2 separate regions of the Homo sapiens genome follow, and region 1 is linked to region 2. The links are contacts of gene promoters, found by promoter capture Hi-C in human tissues and cell types (Jung and others, 2019). All regions are on one chromosome and are shown on one strand. Each heading gives the region's core, a stretch centred on a gene start or on the middle of the fragment in contact. The rest is flanking DNA. Distances are from core to core; before and after follow the strand shown.

Region 1 (3,876 bases), core at 987-3,486, 280 kb before region 2:
AAAACCACAATAAGATACCACTTTATATCCGTCAAAATGGCTATGATTAAAAAAAAGGGGGGCAGGGGCTGCATACAGTGGCTCTTGTCTGTATTCCCAGCACTTTGGGAGGCCAAGGCAGGAGGACTGCTTGAGCCCAGGAGTTCAAGACCAGCCTGGGCAACATAGTTAAGACCTTATCTCTACAAAAAAATAAAAAATTAGCTGAGCGTGGTGGCACATGCCTGTAGTCCCATCTACTCAGGAGGCTGAGGCAAGAGGATCACTTGAGCCCAAGAGTTCAAAGCCACGGTGAGCCATGACTGCACCACTGCACTCCAGCCTGGGCAACACGGTGAGACCCTGTCTCAAAAGAAAAAATGAAAGTTAAACATAAAAGCTAATCCAACAATTCCACTTCTGGGTATATACCTAAAAAAAGCAGGGACTCAAAACAGATACTTGTACACCAATGTTCACAGAAACATTATTCATAATAGCCAAAATGTGGAAACAACCCAAATGACCATGAACAAATAAATGAATAAACAAAATGTAGTATATACAAACAATGAAATATTATTCGCCCTTAAAAAGGAAATTCTGATAAATGCTACAACATGGATGAACCTTGAAGACATTATGCTAAATGAAATTAGCCAGATACAAAAAGATGAACATTGTATGATTCCACTTATATGAAATATCTACCATAGGCAAATTCACAGAGACAGTGAGTAGAATAAAGGATACCAGCAGCTGGGGGACGGGGGGATGGGGAGTTATTAAATAATGGTAGAGTTCCAGTTTGGGATGATGAAAAAGTACTAGAGATGAACAGCAGTGGTGTGGTACAACATTGTGAATGTATTTAATGCCGCAGAATTTTACACTTAAAAATGGTTAAAAATGGAAAATTTTATGTATATTCTACTACAACAAGAAAGAAAGGGAAAAAAAACCCAGGGTTCTACCATCACATTAATTCAACAAGACCGAATTCCAGACTGAATTTTGCCATTTCAAAGGTGCTCCATGGAAAAAAAAATTAAGCTTAAAATATTTGTGTTCATTCTGTTTCTTCTCATTTCTTTAACTCTCTGATCTCATTTATCGCTATGTTCTAGAAACATATCCTTCACATTACTCATGCTCTCTTCTGCCACTCTCTTAATATATTGTTTTATCTAGACAATAGGATTTTATAATCTCTAAAATCTCTAAACTTAACCAATATAGCATAAGTTTACTTTGTTAAATATTTAAACTAATAGAAGTACATGAAGTTTCAATAAAAACTGGTTTAGGCTGGATGCAGTCGCTCACTCCTGTAAAATCCTAGCACTTTGGGAGGCTGAGGCTGGCGGATGGCCAGAGCTCAGTAGTTTGAGACCAGCCTGGCCAACATGGTGAAACACCATCTCTACTAAAAATACAAAAAATTAGCAGGGCATGGTGGCACACGCCTATAATCCCAGCTACTCAGAGGAGGCCAAGGCATGAGATTGCTTGAACCCAGGAGGCAGAGGCTACAGTGAGCTGAGATCACACCACTACCACTCCACTCCAGCCTGGGCAACAGAATGAGACTCTGCCTCAAAAAAAAAAAAAAAAAAAAGACAAAACTGGTTTAAACTGTGCATTACTATAAAATTAACAATAAATATATTAAGTGCTAAGCCTGATCAAAATGATTGCTTGATTTTGAAAAAAAATCCTTATTTATGTTGTCCATTTATTTTCTACTACTTCACATTAATCTTCCAATGTGATCAATGAACATTTTACACTTACCTTTGTATGGTATTCCATAGCATCCAATTCACCTTGATTGAAAACAACACATCTTTTACGCTTCTAAAGGGTAGATCAATTACAGGGGAAAAGTTATGTTGCCATTAATATTTTGCTTTTTCATTATAACATTATTTATGTCTTATATCTGTCTAATAATAATTAATAATTAATAGTAGTAATTGTCTACTGAGGTCAAAATCAATGCAAAGGGTATGGAGTGAGGAGGTAAGCTTTCCCAAAGTAAATTAAAAACAACAACATAAACAAAATGGATTGTAAAAGGTCACCTCAGCTTTATCTGCTATTAATAAGAACTAGTTCTGGCCGGGCACGGTGGCTCACGCCTGTAATCCCAGCACTTTGGGAGGCCAAGGCGGGAGGATCACGAGGTCAGAAGATCGAGACCATCCCGGCTAACATGGTGAAACCCCATCTCTACTAAAAATACAAAAAAAAAAAAAATTAGCCAGGCATGGTGGCAGGCGCCTGTAGTCCCAGCTACTTGGGAGGCTGAGGCAGGAGAATGGTGTGCGAGACTCTGTCTCAAAAAAAAGAACTAGTTCCACATGATAAAGTGTAGCATCAGCACCCATGAAATACAAGGAAACTATGACACCGTATGAAGTTACCAGTGCCATCTATCACTTTATATATGGTATAGTTATTCTCAATTTCCTTTATTTCTGAGAAGAGAAACTAGCCAGGTGCTATCATCAAAAGAAATTCCAATGTGCTTATGACTGATGAGGGTTAGGTATGAATCAGATTTATATTGACACTGTTCTATATCTAACAATATAGAGTAAGGACTTAGTACTTTTTATGGCTGAAACTCCAGTGCTTACCTTGTGTCAAACTCTTAGCATGCTAACAATAAATGTCTGTTGGCTAAATAAATAAATGGACTTAATATTGTATAATTTGCTTTAGCATATCAGAAGGTGTCATCAAGATTACATTTATTACATAGGTTCATCTATTTTTTTCCATGTTATAAGAAATTTACCCAACCTGAGAGATTAAACATTAAAAATTAATGCCCATACCCTGTAAACTATAAAGTCCTTTACAAAGGCTTGTTATTATCTGAATTACTTATATTACAACATACTATTTTACTAAGACCTCGGACAATGCTAAATATTTTCTTTTCTGTGTGTGACACGTAGTAAATGATCAATAAATATTTGATGAAAGGAAAAAGGGGACTGGGCATGGTGGCTCACACCTGTAATCTCAGCACTTTGGGAGGCCGAGGCAGGTGGATCACCTGAGATCAGGAGTTCAAGACCAGCTTGGCCAACAAGGTGTCTACTAAAAATACAAAAAATTGGCCGGGTATGGTGGTGGACACACATAATCCCAGCTACTCGGGAGGCTGAGACAGGAGAATTGCTTGAACCTGAGAGGCAGAGGTTTCAGTGAACCGAGATCACGCCACTGCGCTCCAGCCTGGGAAACAGAGCAAGACTCCGTCTCAAAAAAAAAAAGGGGGATCAACACATGAACACACAGAGGGGAGCAACAGATACTGGGGCCTACTGGAAGATGGAGGTCAGAGGATGGGAGGAGGGAAAGGATCAGGACAAATAACTAATGGGTACTAGGCTTAATACCTGGGTGATGAAATAATTTGTACAACAAAACCCCATGACACAAATGTATCTATATAACAAACCTATACATGTACCTGTGAACTTAAAAATTAAAATTAAAATTAAAAAAAAGAAGAATATGCACAAGAAAAAAGTCACAATATTAAAAAGTTCCATTTCAGAAAATGTATTTTCTTTATTACTTTCCTTATTCTAATTCTCAACAAACTTTCGTATTTAATATCTTTCTTCTTCACCGAATTATAAGATCCATCAGGGAGGGATTATGTTTATCTTGTTTCATCACTCTGCATACAATGGCACATAGAAAGAGCTCAAACGTTTGTTCGGTGAGTAATGAATGTTAATCCTATCACTAAAAAAGAAAATGTTGAGGCCGGGTGCAGTGGCTCAAGCCGAGGTGGGCAGATCACGAGGTCAGGAGATCAAGATCACCCTGGCTTAACACAGTGAAGCCCCGTCTCTACTAAAAATACAAAAAATT
Region 2 (3,754 bases), core at 320-2,819:
CTATTTGCATGATCTTCCGCTTAAGAGTCCAGGGACAGATGATGTCCTTACATGGTATAATGTTCTGCTTGGCCCTTGTAGTTTCTACTTAGGGACTTCTCTTTCTTTCATCTGCAAATCAAAAGGTCCAACAACACCATCAAAGAATATTAGAAACAAAATAGACCAATGGCTTCATTTAGTAAAGTAGGAACATAGCAAACGTTTTTATTTTTTATTTTTTGCGACAGATTTTCACTCTTTTTGCCCAGGCTGGAGTGCAGTGGTGAGATCCCGGCTCACTGCAACCTCCATCTCTCTGGTTCAAGCGATTCTCCTGCCTCAGCCTCCCAAGTAGCTGGGATTACAGGCATGTGCCACCGTGCCCGGCAAATTTTTTTTTTTTTTTTGTACTTTTAGTAGAGACGGGGTTTCTCCATGTTGGTCAGGCTGGTCTTGAACTCCCGACGTCAGGTGATCCACCCGCCTCGACCTCCCAAAGTGCTGGGATTACAGGCGTGAGCCACCCCGCCTGGCCCATAGCAAAGCTTTATTCACTTAACGAGTCATGGCCAACAGCGTCTGGTTAGCTCACAGAGGCCACAGTTTTATCTGTGGAGTCTGGTAACCACGCCACTCACGACCCTGTACATTGATTAGATGCAGCAGGTCATCTCAAACACACAGCTCTCTCCAACACCCCTTAGAATACAACACTTGGGTGGTGATTTTACTTAACATTCTGGTACTTCATCCCAAAAAGACATCGGTAGAGATTAGTGTAACTCAACAACAGGCAGAAAACATACAAGAAAGTTTAAGACGGATGTCTAGCAGTGCCTGAACTGTTAAGAAGCAAACGTGAGTAAATGCCTTAGTTTCAATAGAAAAAGAAAGTTCACAGTGGGACCTCAGAAGCAGAGGCTGTGAGATCACCTTTCAAGAATTGGAGGAGAATTGCAGTAAGTGATAGAGCCGGACGCTGAGCTGCAGCAGCCTCTGGGAATTGGCGGGGCTGTGGCTTGTCCTGTCCTGCCGCCCCCCGCGTGGCCTCGGAAACTGTCAGATGGTGCCTAAGGCAGAGTTGGGCAAAGAAAGAACCAGCGTTCGTTTCCTCCTGGACTCTCTAGGTCCATGGAGCTGGTGGGGGAACGGCCCTGTCTTGCCCGAGGAGGAAATTCGAGTCGAGCCCCCACTCCTCTCCCCGCGGGACTGATAAACATGTCCCTCATTCGCCCCGGGAGGCTGGCACCCAGGCACGACGCGAGGACGGCCAGACTCGCCGACGGCGGCCGCGTCCCGGGGGGCCGGGAGCGAGCCTGTCGGAAGGTGGGAGGCGGAGTCGCTCGGCATCTGGGAAGAGACCAAAGGAATGAGTCATTGGAAATGCTGTAACGTAGACCCTTATCCCAAACCCTTTCGCCCCTCCACCCCGAGCCCCCTGCCGAGAAGCGAAGGGACTGGAGACGGGGAGACTTGGTGGGGGGAGAGTCACGTTTCGGAGAGGGAAGTGAAATAAAGAGGGCGGCACCCGGGGGGACCTGTGCGTCATTGAGGGACCGGGGAGAAGCGCAGGGCGCACGGGGCTGCAGAAGGAGAAGTAGGAACGAGAAGCCGGAGGGGGCGGCCGCGGAGCACTGGTTGGAGCGCCGCGAAGCGCCCGAGCCTCTTGCCTTCGCGGGCGGCGCCCTGGCCGCCGGCAGCCTTGTGGCCGGTGCCCCGATCCGCCGCGCTCCGGACCCGGGCAGGCGGGGCGCGCCCGCTGCGCGCGGGATGTGGCAGCCCAGACGGCCCTGGCCCCGCGTGCCCTGGCGCTGGGCGCTGGCGCTGCTGGCCCTGGTTGGCGCGGGGCTGTGCCACGCCGGCCCGCAGCCCGGGTATCCCGCGCGGCCCAGCGCCAGGAACAAGTAAGTGCGCGCCCCTTGGCTGGCCCCAAACCGCCTACCCCTCCCCGGCCCCCAGTTGAGCCCCAGAGCTGCCCTGCCAAAGACGACGAGCGGCAGCCGGGGGCCTCCCTTGGACTTCCCCGGGCGGCTCCCTCTGCGGGGGACCGCGCGCTCCGCAGCCGGCGCCTCAGGCAGAGCTGACTCCGGGGGCGTGGGCGCAGAGAGCGTCCCGCAGACCCGGGCGATCCGAAAACGACTCCCAGGAATTCCATGAGCCCCTGGGACCATGGGTGCTTTTCTTTCCCGTCTTGGTCGGGTCCAGGCGCGCGCTCTCCAGAGGCGCACCCGGGCACCCTCCGGCGTCTGCTCGGTGAAGCTCCCGCCTCCGCAGAGGGCGACGGGCCCCCCCGACCCTCGCTCGGTCTGGTGCCGCAGTCCCCTCTCCCCTGGCCTCATTGTTCTCCGGGTTTACCCCGTGCCCCTCTCCCTCTCTCTCCTGCACCCCAGGAACTGGTGCGCCTACATCGTGAACAAGAATGTGAGCTGCTCCGTGCTGGAGGGAAGTGAGAGTTTTATTCAGGCTCAGTACAACTGTGCCTGGAACCAGATGCCCTGTCCGTCGGCGCTGGTGTAAGTCCTGGAGCCGGGGAGCGGGCGGGGCGCGCCCGGGCCGGGGCGGTGGGGGTGGGGTGGGGTTGCTGCGCTGGGCTCCAGTCCCTCCGGTAAATCCCTTCCAGATCCGGTGAAAAGCCCGCAGCGGAAAAGCGCTCCGAGCGCTCGCGGGGCACCGGCCACGCTGGGCTATTTAGGGAGTGGGTGCTGCCCGAGTGAGTGGGGAGGATGCGCGCGCCTCGGGAGTGTGGGGTCGCGGGGGCGTAGGAGAGGATGAACAAAGCTCCCACTCCCACTTCTGTTTTCTCCCTTTCAATGTTTGTTTGTAACATAAGGCAGCTGAATCTAATTGGATCCATATTGTGTGTTCTGGGGCACACAGAAGATTCCAAAATGTATACTGCTAAAGACTATTCCGTATAGGATTCGCTGAGAGGTTTGGCTAAGTAGTGTTCTAAAACGAGTGAGTTCTGTCCGTATGTCCCCATAAAACGGAATCTTCCAGTTTTGTAGATGTCTAAGCTAAAACCTCAGGAACACTTTGCTTAAAAGTGTGGCTCCCCAGCATCCCTCCCCGCAACTTAGATTTGGAGATTCTCTAGAGATTGTGGGAGAGAATGGCCGTTAAAGACAGGGGGAAGAATTAATCATCTTTTTGCTTATAAAGATTTCCCCATCTTAAAAAAAAAAAAAAACAGGAAGCAATGCAATAAAGTACAAATGCCGTTAAATACATGACACTCATTCAATTGTCATCAGGCAAGTCTTTGGGGGTTTTGTATCAGTCTGATACCGGAAGATGGGCCAGTGTGAATAAATGGCTGTTGAGGAACACATGTGATGGCTGAAATTAATTGTTTTCCACTAAGAATAAGTTGTTTGTCTTAGAGCACAGTTGTCATTACAGCAGAGAATAGTCAGTAGGCGGATCTGTCTTTGGCAAAACCAAGGGACAGACTGGAACTTGTACTCCAGGAAACCTTATTCCAGAGAACAGTAGATGAGCCTGTAGTCTTATGGGAAGTGGTCGCTGGGTCCACCCCACGTGGGCTTCTGGAGGAGCTGCCAACAGGGTTCAGCTAATTCCTGCTCGGCAAAAACAAAGTAAAACAAACAGAAACTTAGACGAGGTCCCCATTTCCTAATATACAGTGGAAAACGCTGAAATTGAATGCCCAGCTAGGCTATCTCTTTGAGTTGGATACATTGTCAGAGAGATAAGGTACTGTCATCCAACCTTAATCTCTTAGTAAGATTGAGACCTCATCGTCTATGGC

What was found. The method cuts DNA at HindIII sites, captures the fragments that hold promoters and counts their contacts. A contact is called where the count stands out against the background at its distance.
Region 1: a contact is called between a fragment that was not itself captured here and the fragment with the promoter of EMILIN2 in region 2, in 3 of the 25 tissues and cell types used here (H1 embryonic stem cells, lymphoblastoid cells and spleen).

What each region holds. Positions count from the first base shown.
Region 1 is chr18:2,562,024-2,565,899 of GRCh38, forward strand. METTL4 (methyltransferase 4, N6-adenosine) reads right to left here. Exons shown (of 9, transcript NM_022840.5): 3 at 1,774-1,836. Among named protein-coding and RNA genes, the nearest start is that of METTL4, 7.5 kb to the right of the region's middle. The HindIII fragment of the contact is 6,769 bases long and covers 1-3,876 here.
Region 2 is chr18:2,845,437-2,849,190 of GRCh38, forward strand. EMILIN2 (elastin microfibril interfacer 2) reads left to right here and starts at 1,570. Exons shown (of 8, transcript NM_032048.3): 1 at 1,570-1,886; 2 at 2,373-2,495. The coding sequence starts at 1,753. RefSeq lists silencers at 1,788-1,837, 2,458-2,547. The HindIII fragment of the contact is 15,158 bases long and covers 1-3,754 here.